Regions from separate parts of the Homo sapiens genome. Here all the other regions are linked to region 4. Evidence: promoter capture Hi-C in 16 types of primary human blood cells and fetal thymus (Javierre and others, 2016). All regions are on one chromosome and are shown on one strand. Each heading gives the region's core, a stretch centred on a gene start or on the middle of the fragment in contact. The rest is flanking DNA. Distances are from core to core; before and after follow the strand shown. Region 1 overlaps KDM7A (lysine demethylase 7A). Region 2 has its middle 4.6 kb from the start of KDM7A-DT. Region 3 overlaps PARP12 (poly(ADP-ribose) polymerase family member 12). Region 4 holds the start of HIPK2 (homeodomain interacting protein kinase 2).

Region 1 (4,817 bases), core at 1,918-4,417, 340 kb before region 4:
AAGAAACCTCATACTCTTTAGCAGTCACTTCCCATTCCCGCCTCCACTGAGCCCCTGGCAACCACGAATGTACTTTCTGTCTCTGTGGATTTGCCTCTTTGGATACTTTATGTTGATGGAATCATACAATATGTGGGCTTTTGCGTCTAGCTTCTTTCACTTAGCATATTATTTTCTTACTTTTTTTTTTTTTTTTGAGACAGAGTCTTGCTCTGTCGCTCAGGCTGGAGTGCAGTGGCCTGATGTCGGCTCACTGCAAGCTCCCCATCCCGGGTTCGTGCCATTCTCCTGCCTCAGCCTTCCAAGTAGCTGGGACTACAGGCGCCCGCCACCATGCCTGGCTAATTTTTTGTATTTTTAGTAGAGACCGGGTGTCACGTGTTAGCCAGGATGGTCTCAATCTCCTGACCTCGTGATCCGCCCACCAAAGTACTGGGATTACAGGCGTGAGCCTCCACGCCCGGCCGGCATACTATTTTCTAGGCTTATCCATGTTGTAGCATGTATCATTACTTCATCTTTTCATGGCCCAGTAATGTTCCATTGTGGGATATACAGGTTGAGCATCCCTAATGCAAAAGTCCAAAATCTGAAATGCTCCAAAATTGAAAGCTTTTGAGCATCTGCATGACCCTCAAAAGGAAATGCTTACTGAGGCATTTTGGATTTTGGATTTTCAGATTAGGGATGCTCAGCTGGTAAGTATGTAATGCAAATATTCCAAGATCCAAAAAAAATGTGAAATCTGAGTACTTCTGGTTCCAAGCATTTTGGATAAGGGGTACTCAGCTTTACCGTATTTTGTTTATCCATTCACCAGTTGGTGGACATTGGGTTGTTTCCACATTTTGACTATTTGAATGGTGCTGCTTCGAACATTTGTATACAGTTTTTTATGTGGAGGTATGTTTTCATTGCTTTTGGGTAAATATAGCTTGTAGTAGAATTGCTGCATTACATGGTTTAACTACGTTTAACTTCTTGAGGAATTGCTGACCCGTTCTCCAAATGGCTGCACCATTTTACGTTACCACCAGCAGTGTATTTGGGTTCCAGTTTCTCCACACCCTCACCAGTGCTGTAATTGCCTTCTATTCTATTCTAGTGGGTGTGATGTGTCATGATTTGGATTTGCATTTCCTTAATGAGTAATGATGCTGAGCATTTTTCTTGTTGGGCATTTGCATATTTTCTTTGGAGAAATGTCTATTCAAACCCTTTGCTCATTTTAACATTGGGTTGTCCTTTTTAATTGTTGAGTTTGTAAGCATTCTTTATTCTCTGTACTAGACCCATATCAGTATGTATGATTTGCAAATAATTTGCTCCCATTTTGTGGGTTATCTGCTCACTTTCTTGATAATATCCTTTGATGCACAAAAGTTTTTAATTTTGATAGTCTTAACTATGGTCAGCTCTCCATTGCTGTTAAAAACCAAGCCTGTAAGAATCTGGGCTGCTGTCCCAGGACAGTTAGGACAGCATAGGGTGTGTCTTGAGAGACCCTCAAAGAAAGGACTGAGTATCAGCCTTAGCTGTAGCCTCAAGTATAGGTATCAGGCCTCTCATTTTGAGATGTAAATGAATGTAGAGTATAGACTGTCCAGACCAGTGGTTTCGAGAACTGTGTGCTGGTTTTGGTGACCCTAATGACTGTAAAGTTCACAGGGATCTGTCCCTGCAGGTCCTGCTGAAAGCCTTGCCTCTGGTGTATATAATAACAAATGTATGTTGAATAAATGAAGACATGCCTTAGAACTACCAGAATATTTGCCTAGATTAGTAACAGTATTTTCATTGTGAATGGGCTCATTCACATTGTGAATGCCCCTCCCTTAAATCTTCCTACTTCTTGCTTTTATGTTAGGTATTTCTAATATAATCATAAATTGACATTTATGATTCTTCAAATCATAAATTGACATTCATAGAATAATTTTTTAAATTGATTTAATGTCCTAACTAGAATATAAAGAAGAAATAAAAAGGTAATTTATAATGAAATGCTATTTCAGTATGTGCCTGTCTAGGCACAGCAGCATTAGAGAACAGAATGAAATAGTAATTGCATAAGGAAGGAAATCAATCTAGGTGTGTGTCAGTGGCAACACAAATTCTATCAGTAGCACTGGTGTAGGTACTGATACTTCCTGGAATATCAGAATCACATGGAGGGCTGGTTACAACACAGATTGCTGGACGTCATGGCCAAGGTTCGGATTCTGTGGATCTGGAGTGGGCCTGAGAATGTGCATTTCTAACAAGTTATTGGCTGATTCAGGTGCTGCTGGTATGGGGACCATATTTGGAGAACCACTGCTGTAGGCAATGTAATTCTTTTCCCAAGGTTGTTAGTGACTGATAAGCTTCCAAACTACAGTACAGTTTTTGTGTTTCAGGAAATTGTGCCAAAACCATGAAAATATACTGTGTGTGGGTGTCTGTATATACAGATATATATAATAATATATAATAATGGAGTTCTAATTTCTAGGCTCAGATAGTTAATAGGACAGGCTTTGTACCTATATGAATGCGCAGGAAAATTTGGCAGTCCCGAGTGATGCAGGACAATTTCATTTTGTATGGAACTGTCTCACATATTGTACTCCTGGCTCCCACTCACAAAATGCCAGTAGTGCTCCCAGATCATTGTGACAATCAGAAAAGCCCCTAAACGTTCCAAAACATCCTGAACAGGCAGTACTGCCGCTATTGAGAACCACTGATGTGTAGGATTTGGAGTTGGCACAGACTGCTAATTTGTGGTTTCAAGGTCAAGCTCAAGGCTTTGTGCCTTTGAGCACAGCAATGGGCACACTTGAAAGTGAGTCCTTTGAGGGTTTTTTGTTTTGTGTTACAGTTCAGTGAGGGGTCAAAAGATGAAAAATACAAAGAAAACGGGATTTGTGTATTTTAAAAGCTAATTTGCATACAAATATGTGTTTGTATTTATTTCTGGTGAAGTCTTGAAGTCTGCCAACATTTTTTTCAAAAGTTAGACGTCATGTCTTAGAAATGGTTTTCACTTTGTAAGCATTTGTATGGGAATACAAAATATCATTTTTTGGCAACACCTATATTTGTAGGACCATAACCCTTCATAATTAAATGTGAGTAATCTACCTTTTCCTTCTACAGAGTCAGGTCTCAGGTTGACTCCTCTGATCCTCCTCTGCTTAGTCCTTTCGGGGCACTGATTTCAGGATGACACCAGGGCGATGGAGTGTCCCATCAATCCCAGTGTGTTCTCTAATGGAAAATGTGCTTTTCTAATTCAAACCAGATTTGGCTGGTCTCAAAGAGTAAAATCTTTAATATAAAGTTGGGTTGTGTTTTTAAGCTAAAAAACAAAAACAGGCTGGGCACAGTGGCTCACGCCTTAATTTCAGCACTTTGGGAGGCCAATGTGAGAGGATGACTTTGAGGCCAGGAGTTTGAGATCAGCCTGGGCAACAAAGTGAGACCCCATCTCTATTTTTAAAAAGAAAAAAACAAATACAGTAACAACTACAAAAACCGTCACCTTATTTCTCAAACTCAGCATAGAGCCTACCATATAATAGGCATTTAATAAATAATTAAATCTATAGATTGTAATAAACATTAACTTCTCTAGCACTGAAATATGAAGTAAACTGATATTGATATTTTGAGTTACTTCACAGGTAGATATCCTATTGGTTTAGTTTACATATTGAAAAATGACTGGTTTATATATTTTCAACCATTTTAGGGTGGATCCATGCTGTGCTCACTTCTCAGGACTGTATGGCTTTTGGGGGGAACTTCCTGCACAACCTTAACATTGGCATGCAGCTCAGGTTTGTGTCATCAGTATTTAAATGACCTTTTGTCCTTTTTAAAAATAGGATACTTTTTTTTTTAACTTAAAAAAAATCAATAGCTTATTTTATTTGAGATTCCATGGAAATAGTCCCTGAGATATTATTAGGGATAGAAGCTTTTAACAAAAGTAGTATTTTAAAATTTTGCCAGGAGGATAATTTGCATTTCAAATCTAAAACAACAACAACAAAAGGGAACTTATTCAGATAATATTCCAAATTTCAAAATTTTGTGAAAATGTATGTGTTCTTCTTTGGCTATTTTTGCAGTGAGGGAGATGAACAAAATCTAGTCAGACTCAGATGTGACATATGGTGCTAGAAAAAAGCAACCGTAAGTCAGGACTGCTATCAAAACACCTGCTTTAATTTTGCTGCAGGTAAAGGATTAATAGCTGTTTCTCCTCTATATGAGAATTTGACCTTTGCGTAACTCTCTTCTCCTAGTAGTCTAATGAGTGTTGACTTTTACTAGGTAACATTGCTTATGGTAAAAATGATTCCTGATTGATAAACTGCATCAGGACTGGGAGAACTAGAAATACCTAGTAAGAAGCCATATCTCTGGACTTGCCTGAATGTGGTAACTCTTGTAACTTGGCACACTCATAGAGATCCCTAGAAGCTATGCATCTGTGTGTGGCGTTATTAGGGGAGATAGTGGCTTTTACAGGGCATAAGGCTTTAAGCAGCCTTAAACAGCTCCCACACCTACCAAGTGTGGATCTTGTCTTTTTGTACCTGAGCTGTCCCTGAGGGAGGGATGGCTCCTGTTTAATTCTTGCCAAGTGTGGTCTTGAGCTGGAATGCCTAGTGGAGCCTAAATAAAACTTTTTTGGGTGGGTATTGCACTGTTGTCTAACACATAGAGGTGTTTTCTGAAACACACAGTTTTATTTATTGTAGTAGAACCCTCGTAAAAATGTCTTTTGTTAAAACCAGGATACAAATCCCAAAGTGTGATCCTGA
Region 2 (4,176 bases), core at 1,207-3,706, 400 kb before region 4:
AGTTGCTGGGACTACAGGCATGCACCACCACACCTGGCTAATTTTTGTATTTTTAGTAGAGACTGGGTTTCAACATGTTAGCCAGGCTGGTCTCCATCTCCTGACCTTGTGATCCACCTGCCTTGGCCTCCCAAAGTGCTGGGATTACAGGCGTGAGCCACCACGCTGGCCATCTCATTCCAGCTTTGACTTCCCAGGCTTGATCCGCCTGCCTCTGCCTCCTGAGTAGCTGGGACGACAGGTGCGTGCCACCACGCCTGGCTAATTTTTATTTTTTGTAGAGATGGGGTTTCGCCATGTTGCCCAGGTTACACTCTTTGTTTTAAAAATGGCAACTTTTAAAATAAACTAAGCTAGTGGTTTTGTGAAATGTTTCATATTTTGGATTAGTCTTATTTCCTTGTGGTATCATACAACTTGTTGCTGCTCTATCTCCTGAATTTCCTGTCAGCTGGAAATTAAGTCTTAAGGTTTAATTATATTCAGGTTAAACATTTTTGGCAAGGATACTTCCTAAGTGATACTATGTACTTTATACTGTATCCTTTGTAATGCCTGGCTACATTGTGATTCACTGTCCTTACTAATGTCATTTATCTGCTTTGCTTTCCTTTATACTTTTTCACCACTTTTATTAACATTTGCGCTTTGAATGTGTTCAACATGACAGTCCTCCTTTAATAACATCTTAACCTCGGGCTGTCAGTTTAGAATTTTCCCAGCTCCTGGGGTAGAAGCAAAGATAATCAGGCTGTGAACAAAGCTGCTGAGCTCTGTGTGTTGGGTCCTGCTTCCCCGACTAGACTCCACTCTTCTTCCTCCCAGCACCATGATATACTCTTTCAAGACCTACTCTCCATAGGCAATCTTTTCCACTCAGACATTATCCTTTTCCCTCCAGCTCAGTAAAATTAAAATTTCTCTGTCCTCCTACCACAACTTTAGCCAGGCTAGTTAATTTGTGTAGTTAATCCCTGTTTCGTTAATCTGATGAACAGGTTACAGGGAGGATCAAGTGCTATGTAAGAACAAATCACTCTCATTTAATGCATGTCAATGGTTTAACGTAGCATTCCCAAGATATATTCCCAAAATATGTTTGTTTTCTTTCTTTCTTTCTTTCTTTCTTTTTTTTTTTTTTTTTGAGACGGATTCTCGCTCTGTCGCCCAGGCTGGAGTGCAATGGCACGATCTCGGCTCACTGCAACCACTGCTTCCCAGGTTCAGGTGATTCTTCTGCCTCAGACTCCTGAGTAACTGGGATTGCAGGCACCTGCCATCGTGCCCGGCTAATTTTTGTATTTTTTTAGAGATGAGGTTTCACCATGTTGGCCAGGCTGGTCTGGAACTCCTGACCTCAGGTGATCCGTTCACCTTGGCCTCCCAAAATGCTGGGATTAAGGCGTGAGCCACTGTGCCTGGCCAGTACGTTTGTTTTCTAAGGAAGAGAATAGCAGACGTGGTTGTGGAGATAGAGCAGTATCATTAGTAGTAGGAAGGAGAATTGTTAGTTTGGAGCAAACATTCCTTGTCAGAGAAATGAGGTTAAATGAACAAGTGAAGTGTTAAAAACAAACACAACACCCTAGATTTGATGTGAAAATTAAGAGAGATCTGCGAGTATTGGAGAAACCACAAAGGAGAAAGGGAGAGGGAGTCCCACGGTCATTGTCAACTGATGCTGGCATGGAGCTGGGTGTCTTTCTTCAAGATATTTTTCCTTTTGAAATTCTATCCCCCGCTTGTTTTTGAGACAATATTCTCCTAGTCTTCTGTCCTAACTCTTCAGCTGCTCTTCATAATAGAGCTGTCCTCTCTATTATTATTAATGAACAAGTAGCAAAATAATTATTCATAATTGCAGTTAGTAGCTATATGGCTTATCATATGCTAAGAATTGTGCAAAGTATGTTATTTTAGTGTACCCAGCCCTGGGAAGCAGATATGCTTACCATTCCCATTAAAATGAGAAAACTAAAATCCAAGTGTTAATAAGTTGTCACAGAGGTAGTAGGTTGTGAATCCAAAACCATGAGCTTAATTATGATGTATGGGGCTTGCCACTAAAACGTTGGCATCATCCAGAGTTCTAGCCTTAATCCCTTTCTTCCCAAGATCAAATCTTTGTGTTTACAATTTCTCTAACCTTTCCTTACAGATTTGTATGCCTTACAGTGTCTTTATTCTTTACTGATCTCTTCATGTACTTTTAAAAATAGCTGCATTTCCAAACTGGAGATTAATTAAATAGACTGAGCAGAAATGCACAGAAGTGATGCTAGTATTCTCACCAAATCCTATCAGATGGCACGTGATCTTGATTTGTCCCATTATTGATGGCACTTGATCATTTGATTAAGATGGTGTCTGCCAAGCTCCTTAACACTGAAAAGTTACTCTAGTTCCCTTTGTAATTAGTAAGAATTTTGTTGGGAGATACTTTGAAACTATGAAACTATTCCACTGCTTATCAAACTTTCAATTTATGTATTTCTTTACACTGGTATAGCTTCCTATATTATTCAGTGGGTTATAATACATGATTTTTTTTAAATGTTGAAGTACAATTTGTCCCTGATTTGGCTGGTGTCCTTTAGACATGCCTCATTATTCTTTGAGCACGTCCTTATATTCTGGTACTACAAGAAGTTCCAGGCTCATCCCGTACCCTCTTCTCCAGTCCTGGAATCAACTATTTTGCCAAGAAGAAAAATGAAGTGGAGAATGGTATTTAGAAGCCAAGACCTGGGCTAGCTGTTCTCATTGTTTTGTGGTGTCACTACTCCCAGATCCTCTCAATGGACAGGGTATGTACATATACACCTATATCTATTTCTACAAATAGTGATAGATTGATACCTCCATTACTAGCCCACCACCAAAGTTTCCTCTTATTTGTAATTCTCTTCCTGAACATTGAGAAACCTGGCTCCCATTTTCCTTAACTCATTGCCAGTCACGTGTCGCATAATGACATTTCCGTCAATGATGGACTGCATATTATGATGGTGCCCCATAATATTATGATGTGATATTTTTACTCTCCCTTTTCTATATTTAGAAACACAATTTCTTACCATTGTGTTCTAAATCCCTATGGAATTCAGCACAGTAACATGCTATACAGGTGTATAGCCTAGGAGTGATGGGCTACATCATCTAGCCTAGGTGTGTAGTTAGCTATACCAAACACGGTTGTAAGTACACTCTATGGTGTTCACACAACGATGAAATTGCCTAACGATGCATTTCTCAGACTTACCTCTGTTGTTAAGCAACACGACTGTATTTTTTTTTTTTTTTTTTTTTTGAGATGGAGTCTTGCTCTGTAGCCCAGGCTGGAGTGCAGTGGCGCGATCTTGGCTCACTGCAATCTCTGCCTCCCGGGTTTGAGCGATTCTCCTGCTTCAGCCTCCCGAGTAGCTGGGAATACAGGTGCGTGCCACCACAACCAGCTAATTTTTTGTATTTTTAGAAGGGACAGGGTTTCACCATGTTAGCCAGGATGGTCTCAATCTCCTGACTTCATGATCCACCCGCCTGGGCCTCCCAAAGTGCTGGGATTACAGGCATGAGCCACCACGTCTGGCCAACACGACTGCGTTTGATCAGTTCTCTTGTACACAACTGTATCAGTTTGTTCTTTCGTTGCTATAAAGAAATATCTGGGCTGGGTGCGGTGGCTCACACCTGTAATCTCAACACTTTGGGAGGCTGAGGCAGGTGGATCACCTGAGGTCAGGAAATCGAGACCAGCCTGGCCACTACTAAAAATGCAAAAATTTGCTGGCTGTGGTGGTGCACGTCTGTAATCCCAGATACTTGGGAGGCTGAGGCAAAAGAATTCCTTGAACCCAGAGGGCGGAGGTTGCAGTGAGCCAAGATCATGCCACTATACTCCAGCCTGGGCAACAAAGTGAGACTGTGTCTCAAAAAAAAAAAAAAAAAAAAAAGAAAAATAAATAAAAATAAATAAATAAATAAATAAATAAATAAATATCTGAGGCATACAACTGTAATCCCAGCACTTTGGGAGGCTGAGGCAGGTGGATCACCTGAGGTCAGGAGTTCAAGACCAGCCTGAGTAACATGGTGAAACCCTTCTGTACTACAATTACAAAAATTAGCCGGGCATGGTGGCAGGTACCTGTAACCCCAGCTACTCAGGAGGCTGAG
Region 3 (4,747 bases), core at 1,085-3,584, 260 kb before region 4:
AGCACCATTTGAGCCCAGGAGTTTGATGCTGCAGTGAGCTATGATTGTGTCACTACACTCCAGTCTGGGTGACAGAGCTAGATCTTGTCTCTATTAAAAAAAAAAAAAAGAAAAAGATGCACTGTATGTATTGCTGATATAATATTTTTAATCCTAGAGGTTAGAAATTCGTATTGTTTTAGGCAGTCAGTATTTGTTTAAGCTTACACAATTACCATTTTGTTTCTTACTCACCATTCCTTTGCTCACACTTCTCCTTGTTTATCATTTTCTTTCTTTAAGTTCCTCTGTTGGAGGTTGCTTTAATGAGAGTCTGGAGGTAATTGTGTATTTTGTTAGTCTGAAAGGGTTTTTATTCCCTTCTCATTCTTGAAAGATAGTTTTACTGGGTATTTTCCCTCAGTTCTTCAAAGACTATTTCATTGTTGTCTGGATTCCATTGCTTCTACTTAGAAGTTAGCTATCAGCCTAAATCGAGGTGGTATTAGTTCACTTCTTAGGGCTGCTGTAACAAATTACCATGAACTTGATGGCTTCAAACAACAGAAATTTATTTTCTCGGTTCTGGAGGCTAGAAGTCCAAACTGAAGGTGTTAGCAGGGCCTTGCTCTGTCTGAAGGCTTTACAGGAGGATCCTTTCTTGCCTCCTCCAGGATTCTGATGCTTAGAAATCCTTGGCATGCCTTGGCTTGTAGACGCGTCACTCCAATCTCAGCCTCCATTGTCACAGGCATTTCCCCATGTGTCTGTGTTCAAATTTCCCTCGTCTTAAAAGGACATCAGTTTTGGATTAGGGCCCACCCGAATCCAATATGACCTCATCTTAACTTGATTATATCTGCAAAGACCCTATTTCCAAATAAGATCGCATTCATGGGTACCAGGGATTAGACCTTCAGCATATCTTCTTGGGGACACAATTCAATCCAGTATAATAGATAGTCTGTTTTTTTCTCTCTGGCTGTTTTTAATATCTTGTCATTCTTTGGTGCTGTGCAGTTTCACTAAAATCTGTGTGTGGATTTAAAAAAATTTATGCTACTCATATTTTGCTGTGCTTTCTGATTTCCTCAGCCATGATCTCCTTAAGTATTCCTTCTCTGGAATTCTCATTAGATATATGGTGAAGTCTTCTCACTTTATCTTTTATGTCTTCTAACTTCTCTTTTATTCTCTTTCTAAACTCTGCCACATTTCTTCCTCTCAGGCTCTCAGTTCATTAGTTCAGACTCTTCTGAGATGCAGTGTGTCCCATCGAAGTATGATTTTTAAATTTCAGTTAATTTAATTATGTTTAAAAGTTCTAAGGTCGGGAGCAGTGGCTCACGCGTGTAATCCCAGCACTTTGGGAGGCTGAGGAGGGCGGATGGCTTGAGGCCAGGAGTTCAAGACCAGCCTGGCCAACATGGTGAAACTCTGTCTGCACAAAAAAATACAAAAATTAGCTGGGCGTGGTGGTGCATGCCTGTAATCCCAGCTACTCCTCGGGAGGGTGAGACAGGAGAATCGCTTGAATCCGGGAGGCGGAGATCACGATGAGCTGAGATGATGCCACTGCACTCCAGCCTGGGTGACAGGGTGAGACTCTGTCTCAAAAAATAAAAAATTAAAAAAAAGTAGTAAAAAAGGAAAAGAAAAAAAGTTTTGGAGGGAGTGGAGGAGAAAGAAAAGAATAATGAATAGTAAAAGTTCTGTTTTTTTCCTTAAATTTACCCAGTCAGTTTTTATAGTCTCTTGATTCTTACTCATACTTTTGATGCTCAATTCCTTTTTAAAAAACATATCACGTATATCTGCATCTGAGAATACTAATGTTTATAGTTCAGGGTGGTCTGATTTTGTTTTTGTTAACTTTTGCTCATAGTGTCTTTGTTTCCACATTTTGTGATCGATTTTGAGCTCATGTTTGATTTGATGGAAATTTCTTTGGAAATTCTTTTTTTTTGAGATGGAGTCTCACTCTGTCGCCCAAGTTGGAGCGCAGTGGTGCGGTCTCAGCTCACTGCAAGCTCCGCCTCCTGGGTTCATGCCATTCTCCTGCCTCAGCCTCCTGAGTAGCTGGGACTACAGGTGCCCGCCACCACTCCCGGCTAGTTTTTGTATTTTTAGTAGAGACGGGGTTTCACTGTGTTAGCCAGGATGGTCTCGATCTCCTGACCTCATGATCCACCTGCCTTGGCCTCCCAAAGTGCTGGGATTACAGGCGTGAGCCACCATGCCCGGCCAAGAAATTCTTTTGAGGCCTGAGTTGAAGGTGAATTTCTCCAGAGGGGATGTGTGTTTGCTTCTCTGAGAACTGCTACCCTGGGTGGTCTTTGCAGCTAATTCTCCCAAAATGTGAATCAGTCTAAAACTTCTGTGAGGCTTGAGTGGTTTATGAGTTCTCAGAGGAATTTTTTCCTCCTTTATCCAGAACCAACATTAATACAGGCAGGTTTCCTTGCCAGATGTCTTTGCAAGGCAAGTCCCCTCTCCAGTCCCCCTTTACTAAGGTGGGTCATCTTTTAGGGTCCTGGTTTTACGCAGAGGTATCTCTTTTGAGATTCAGCCTCCTGCCGTACTCAGACCCTACATTTGTTTCCTGCTTCCCTTTTGCGGCCAAAGCCCAGGCTCTCTGTCGTTACTCATCGATACTGCCCTGGGATAGCTGCTGGCTCTCGCCCTCCTCTCCGCTCTCCAGTTTCGTACCTTCCTTTGGTCTTTAGGCAGTACTGCGTTTAGAAAGGGAGCGTGTCCTGGTGGCTCAGGTGCAGGCTGTGCAGCCCACCTGCCCACCTGAAAGCCCAGCTCGCCCGCTGACTAGCTGTTTGACCTTGAACAGGTTTCTTCACCTTCCTGAGCTTCTGTTTTCCCGTCTGTGAAGTGGAGATAATAGTCTCAACCTCATAGGGTTGTGAAAATGTCATCGCCTAATACATATAAAGTGCTTAATGCAGGGTCTGGCTCACACAGTAAACACTCAGTATATGTTAACTATTGTTATTTTTGGCTTCTGAGGACTTCCCTTTCTTGCCAGCTCAGCAGTGAATTTTAAAAAAGAATGATTTCACCAGCATCTTCGGCATTTTGTACTGAGAGGAATTTTCGTCATAACTAGTCTCCCACATTATCTTGATTTTGATATTTTTATACCTCAAAACTGATCTGAAAAAGCAGTTTCCTCTACCTCTGGGAACTTTTTCTAAAATGTGCATGCCACATTTACTATTCGCATCTCCCAGCTATATGTTCTCAAGCTGAGGGACCTGTGTCTGCTTGGCTGGTGGGATTTTCAGTCTGCTGCTGTTTTTCTTCTGTAGGATCCTGTGCTCTGAGTCAGCCAGTACCTTTCACTCTCATTGTCTGAACTTTAACGCCATGACTTACGGTGCTACCCAGGCTCGCCGCCTCTCCACGGCCTCCTCTGTCACCAAACCTCCACACTTCATCCTCACCACTGACTGGATTTGGTACTGGAGTGATGAGTTTGGTTCTTGGCAGGAATATGGAAGACAGGTAAGTGTGATGGAAAGAGGGTGAATGTTTTGTCCTGAGGATCTGTAAGAGAGGAGCCAAATAAGAGCCCCCATATTGTTGCCAGGGGCATCCTTGAGAGAGCTGAGGATCCCCAGGTGCCAGTGTGGCTCACTTGCTTTGGGAGAATTATGGCAAAACTAGATAAGTTGGAATTTATTTGTATGAGCTTTCATCTTTGAAGAGCTTCCATCTGTTGGCTCATGAGAACTGAATGACAAATTTGTAGTGAGATCAAGTTTCTTCATTGGTTTTATTAAATGGGATAGAAAGATGTTTCTCTTGTTGAACAGGTAACTTAACCCCACAGCTGGTGCCTATGTGTGCAAGTGTGTTTGTGTAGCTGTGATATAGAGGTAAAGGCTTTTCAAACTGGTTGTCTGCCATTTCTGCAACTTTACAGAAGGTAGGCAAATATAAGAAAATTGATTTATATCATGTATAGGTTTGGAATCCAAGCCAAATAACAAAAAATAGTTGCTGTCAATTCTTCGCAGGTGTTTGTGGATGGGTCAGATTAAAGGGAGTCCCCTGGTCACTTATAGAAATACAAGTTTAGGCCGGGCGTGGTGGCTCATGCCTACAATCCCAGCACTTTGGGAGGCCGAGGTGGGCAGATCAGTTGAGGTCAGGAGTTCAAGACCAGCCTGGCCAACATGGTGAAACCCCATCTCTACTAAAAATACAAAAATTGGCCAGGTGTGGTGGCGTATGCCTGTGGTCCCAGCTACTCGGGAGACTGAGGTATGAATGAGAATCACTTGAACCCGGGAGGCAGAGGTTGCAGTGAGCAGAGATCACACCACTGTACTCCAGCCTGGGCGAAAGAGCGAGATTCCATCTCAAGTACAAGTTTAGGGAAGGCACCATTGATAAAGAACTCACCCTCCAAAATGAAAATCGATAGGTATTTTGTACTCTTCTGGGTTTCAAGAGGCTATATTGAAGCTTTAGTTTCTTATTCTTAACTGCACTCAGAATGCCCTTTAACTCTGGTGATGCTCTAATGTAAGCTCCATGAGGGCAGGGACTTTTGTCTTTTCTTTTGCCCCATCGTATCCCGTGTGTGGAATGATGCATAGCCAGTCCTCAGGAAATAGACATTGGCTGATGGAAGGAGGAGGGTGTTACTGACAGTGTCTGTTGGTCAGCTGGAGATGGTCACTCTCAGCGATGGCCTTGCTGCCTTGCACTACTTCCTTTCCCCTCTCCTCCCCTGCTCCCCTCTTGCCAG
Region 4 (4,834 bases), core at 2,335-4,834:
GGGATTACAGGCGTGAGCCACAGCACCCAGCTGCTTTTCTGCTTTCATCTGACGTGGGCCTCTCAATAGCATGCAGCACTGTTGACCTTGCTGGGATGTTGAGGAATCCCCCGTCCTGGCTGTCCTCCAACTTCTCTGCCCTCTTGTCCATGGGGAGCTCTTTTTCCTCTTCCCATGTCTCAAATACTGGTACTCCCCAGGTTCTGTCACAGATCCTCTCTCCTCCCAGCTCCCATGCTCTCCTTCAGTGACATTTCACTGTTAGGTTTATACCTTGCTGCCACTTGACTGCAGTCACCGGAAGGAAAGGAGACAATTAGTATACTCAGTCTGCCAATTCATGAAGGAAAATCTAAGCTCATTTCAAGAATATTTTTCCGTTATATCATACGAACTTCGCTAGCTCAATTGAATGCATGTTTTGCATCTCATGGATACAGCTTCAGTCATGGTGGTCTGAAGAGAAGGTGGACCTCTGTCTGTATGGCTCCATCTTGTTCCCCTTCCATGGGACTCTATTTCCTTGCCCAAGATTGTTCCCTTCTTATGGGGAGGAGACTACCTGTAAAATGTTTTCGGTTGACACAAGTGATATTCATTTTAAGACTGCCTAGAATCACTCACTGCTAGACAGCAGCTGGGATGGACTTAGAGGCAGTTACTGAACACTGGTCAGTGCTGAATTCAGGGGCAGTCCTATAAAGCAGGGCCTTGCTCCAAGACGCTGCCAATCCAGTTATGAACACAGGGTACCTACACAGAAGACAAGAGTCAGCCATCTAGGGTGCGGGTATGCTGTGGACAACAGAGTGTGAGCAACAGGCAGGAAATGTTCTGTGAGCCTAAGGAAAGATGAGACAAAAGTCAGTGGGGCTGGTCAGAGGGAGGAGTTAGAATAATAATAACTTTTATTGAACCCCTACTATGTGTCTGCCCTCTATATAAAACTCTCTCTCTAATCTAACCCAGCCTCAGAGGCTGTGATGAGGACTATATGAAATGCCTTTTATCGAGTTTGTAGTGTTGTGCTGGACACAAGGGAGCATGCAACAAATTGCAGCTATCATCCATTCAACAAATATGTGTGCAGTACTCACCATGCGTTAGGCAATGCAGTTATTGGACATACAATCCAAAACAAGAAAAACATGGTTTCTGTCCTTACTGAGCTTACAGTCTAGAGACACCTTGTCCAAAATGGTAGCCACTAACCACCCATGGTTATTAAAATTAAAAATTCAGTTCCTCAGTCATACTAGCCACATTTCATGTGCTCCACAGACATAAGTAGCTACACTGCCATTATGGCAGCAAGTTCTAATGGCCAGCACTAGAAAGGGGCAGAGAGACATGCATGTAGGGTATGTATTAACAGGGAGTTACATACCTGTGTGGTGAAGGCTATGATAGAGATTTACAGATGCAAAAGGAGAACATTACTATTGTTCTCCTTCTCATAATCAAAATACAGACACTGAGGCTCAGAGAGGTTAAGCATTTTGACCAAGATCACATAGTTAAGTGGAAGAGCTAGGATTTGAACCTAGGTCTGACTTACTCCCACGCTATCTCGGGCTGTTTTGTGGAGGAGGTGAGCCAGGCACAGGTAGAATCTGCTTAAAGAGAGAAGATGGAGAAGGTACCCCTCTGGGAAAGTGGGTGGGAAAGTGACCGCTTGGGCAAAGGCACAGTGACAGAGATGGGTGAAGCTGGCACTGGGCTACAAGTAAACCAGTTTGGCTAGAGAAGCAGTGACTTGCTGAACTCATGTCCTTAGAAAGCTAAGTCAGGACTCGCCTGCCTTGATGAAAAGCCAAGGCACTCAGCCCCACCTGCAGAGGTTGAGTCCTTAGAGGATGTTAGCCAGGAGCGTGGCATGGCCAGAACCACGTATTATGAAGATGGCAATATTTAGGATGACCTGGGCCAAGACTAAAGTTAAAGATTGCAGGGAGGATAGAAGGGAAGGAGATAAATGACCGGTGTGGAGCAAAAAACACTAGAGTGGGAGCCACGAGACCTATTCCTAAGCTTCAATACTGTGTGACATTGGGCAACAGATTTTACTTCTCTGGACTCCATTTCTTCAACTCTAAAAGGGCAGGGCTGGCCCAGATGACCTCTGAGGTCCTTTTAGCAACAGTAGTCTAGGATTCTGCAAACGTGAATGGCATTAGGTTAAGAGAAGGGATAGGAAGTGTAGCATTGATTATGGGGGCAAGGAAGACCGCAGAGTACAAGATCACACAGAGGAAGGTGTCGTGATGTACCACTAAAAAAGTGTGAAAGAGCTTGCCTTTTTTGGGAAGGACTGAAGGATGGGAACGGAGGATGGAGACCGGAAAGGATAAGAAGTAGTGAGAAAATCACGAGGTTGTTTTTAAGAAAGTTATACAGTGTTAGAGATCATTATTTTACACAGATAGCTTTTCAACTTTTTTAAACCCACGATTCACAGACGGAAATAAAATTGACATCATGGTCCAGTACACTTGTCCAGTACCTATAATCGAAACAAAAGGTTTATGAAACAATAGTTGCCCTTACTAAGGGCAATGGACTCTAATATTTTCTATTGGATTCCATTTCGTTCTTTTTGAAAGCTGGTTGCCTTCCGCTGCATTTATTTTATGATCTATTACTGTGTCACGACCCACAGTTTTAAAAACAGTGCCTAAGAGGAGACTCAACAAGTCTTCCTAAGTTGGAGGGGATGGCAGGGCATCCTATCCAAGCATCCGGGAGGCAGCTGGAGAAGCAAACCTGGAGAGGCTCCCGGCTGGGGAGAGTCTGGAGAGTGTTTAGCGGAAGCCCTGATAGGAGAGAGCGCTGAGAAAAGCGAGGACCCAGAGAGTTGTGAGCTCCCATTCAAGTGATGGAGTGGCGGCCCTCGGGACAGTGTAGACGCGAGGAGGAGAAGATCAGGGTGGCGTGGAAGCCAGACTCCGGCAGGAACCCAGCGACCACCCCGGGGGCTGCATTTCCGCGGCGTGCACGGCAGGGCTTCGGTGCCTCTGACCTCGTGTGGCTTTCCGAAGCTCCTCCACTCACCCGCCCTCCTCCGGAGCACGGCGCGCGCCCACTCCTTCATTCATTCATTCCACTCCTACCTCCGCGAGCGCCAACCGGCTGTGAGATGGGCGAGCCACTTTGCCAGCGTGGGGCTCTCTTTCGGGTCGGTTCCCTCCCCGCCAGCACACGCGCGAACCCTCGCACCTGGGCACACACGCGCGCGCGTGCACACACACACACAAAGTTCTGGGGGCCCCTCTGCAGACCGGCTCGGCTGCGCTGGGCTCGGAGCCGTGCGCCCGCCGGGTCCAGGCCGGCCCTCTCACCCACTACCCGGGGCCCGCCCTGCGCCCAGTCCCCCCGCGCTGCGCGGCAGCCCCTCCCAGCGCGGTCCCCTCGGGCCGCCGGCGCGGCTCTGCCCTTCGGTTCGGCCTTCCCCGCCTCGCATCCGTGCCATCGGCGCTCGATTGCGCGCGGACTCCCTGTGGCTCTCCCGGCCCCGCGCCCCGCCCCCGCCCCCGCCCGCCGCCCCCCTCCGCCAGCAACTTTTGCGGAGCCCCCGCGCCCAGCCATGCTGAGCTGAGCCCCGCCGGCCCTGGCCGCGCGCTGCCCCCGGCTCCCGCCCCTCCGCGGATCCGCTCGGGGGCCGCGGCCGCTCGGCGCCTCGGCCTCGGCCGCTCCGCCCGCCCGGCCGCCCCGAGCCCCGAGCCCCGAGCCCCCCGCGCCGGGCCCGGGCGGCAGCGGCGGCGGCGGCGGCGGCGGCGCGCCCGGCCCCCTCCCCCGGCGCCGGCCACGGGAGGCGGTGATGCGGGCGCGGGCGGCCTCGGCTGCGCCGAGAGCGGAGACACAGGCTCAAGATGGCAGATTCCGACTGAGGCTGGGGGGGCCGAGCTCGCGCGCCGCTTTCCCGTCCCCGTTGCCATGAACCGCGGACACCCCGGCCCCGATGGCCCCCGTGTACGAAGGTAAGGGGCGCCCGGCCCCGCCGACCCCGCGCCCGCCGCCCTCCGCGGCCCCCGCAGCTTTGTTCTGCCCGCGGCCCCGCGCCCGCAGCCCCCGGCGCCTGCCCCAGCCCCCACCCGGGGCCCGAGGGGGCCGCGACCCCCTCCCTCGCCCGGAAGATGACCGGGACCCGGCGCCGGCAGGGTCTTGCTTCCAGGGCGGGGAGAGGGGCCGGGGGCGCAGGAGGGGAGGGGGCGTGTGCGAGGGTGGGCGGCTGCCCGGGGAGGGCAGGGACGCCGGGGAAGGCGGACCGGTGACTGTGCTTTTTATTTATTTGCGATAAATGAAGGTGATGCGGCTTAGCTTCCACCGCCCCCCCACATTACCTTTCGGAGCACCTCCTTTCCACTTCGCTCTCCGCCCCGCGCCCCTTCCCATTTCTTTCCGCGCCCACCCCACGCTCCTTTATTCTCCGCGAGCCTCCGATTTTGGGGGGGCTGTGGAATCGGAATGCACGGGGCTAGGTGGGGAGAGAGGAGAGAGATGAAAAGTCCATGTCAGAGCCAGGCAGAACAATGAAATAGGCGAAAATCTCCCCTCATTAGCGTGTGGAAGGGGACGTGGACTTTGGGTTTTCCAGCCGGGGGAGCGGCGGAGACGTTTTTCTGGCTCGGTCTGGGTCGATCTGTGTTGTGCACCTTCACCTGGCATCGGGGTATTTTTCCCCATTTGACTGCCTTTAGCAAGAAAGAAAAGAACGCAAGGCAGAAAAGCAGTAGGTCTGCCTCGCACACTGTCTTTCGTTTCTCTTCAGTCCGTTCTGTCAGCTTCCAGCCAGAAAGCAACCCAGAATCAACTAAGTTTTTACACTTCGATGTGT

Evidence for each region. Contacts are between HindIII fragments. The CHiCAGO score rates a contact against its expected background, and 5 or more counts as called.
Region 1: a fragment that was not itself captured here is called in contact with the fragment with the promoter of HIPK2 in region 4 in 1 of 17 cell types (monocytes); the score reaches 5.4 in monocytes.
Region 2: a fragment that was not itself captured here is called in contact with the fragment with the promoter of HIPK2 in region 4 in 1 of 17 cell types (neutrophils); the score reaches 5.3 in neutrophils.
Region 3: a contact is called between a fragment that was not itself captured here and the fragment with the promoter of HIPK2 in region 4, in 1 of 17 cell types (total B cells). The highest score is 5.2, in total B cells.

Annotation. Positions count from the first base shown.
Region 1 is chr7:140,119,449-140,124,265 of GRCh38, reverse strand. It overlaps KDM7A (lysine demethylase 7A), which reads left to right. Exons shown (of 20, transcript NM_030647.2): 8 at 3,737-3,824. Among named protein-coding and RNA genes, the nearest start is that of KDM7A, 55 kb to the left of the region's middle. The HindIII fragment of the contact is 1,598 bases long and covers 2,369-3,966 here.
Region 2 is chr7:140,179,771-140,183,946 of GRCh38, reverse strand. No RefSeq gene overlaps it. Among named protein-coding and RNA genes, the nearest start is that of KDM7A-DT, 4.6 kb to the right of the region's middle. The HindIII fragment of the contact is 5,380 bases long and covers 1-4,176 here.
Region 3 is chr7:140,040,392-140,045,138 of GRCh38, reverse strand. It overlaps PARP12 (poly(ADP-ribose) polymerase family member 12), which reads left to right. Exons shown (of 12, transcript NM_022750.4): 6 at 3,300-3,495. Among named protein-coding and RNA genes, the nearest start is that of PARP12, 20 kb to the left of the region's middle. The HindIII fragment of the contact is 4,259 bases long and covers 205-4,463 here.
Region 4 is chr7:139,776,748-139,781,581 of GRCh38, reverse strand. HIPK2 (homeodomain interacting protein kinase 2) reads left to right here and starts at 3,584. Exons shown (of 15, transcript NM_022740.5): 1 at 3,584-3,977. The coding sequence starts at 3,959. It also overlaps a transcript of TBXAS1 not described here. RefSeq lists silencers at 3,239-3,468, 3,899-3,988. The HindIII fragment of the contact is 7,054 bases long and covers 2,034-4,834 here.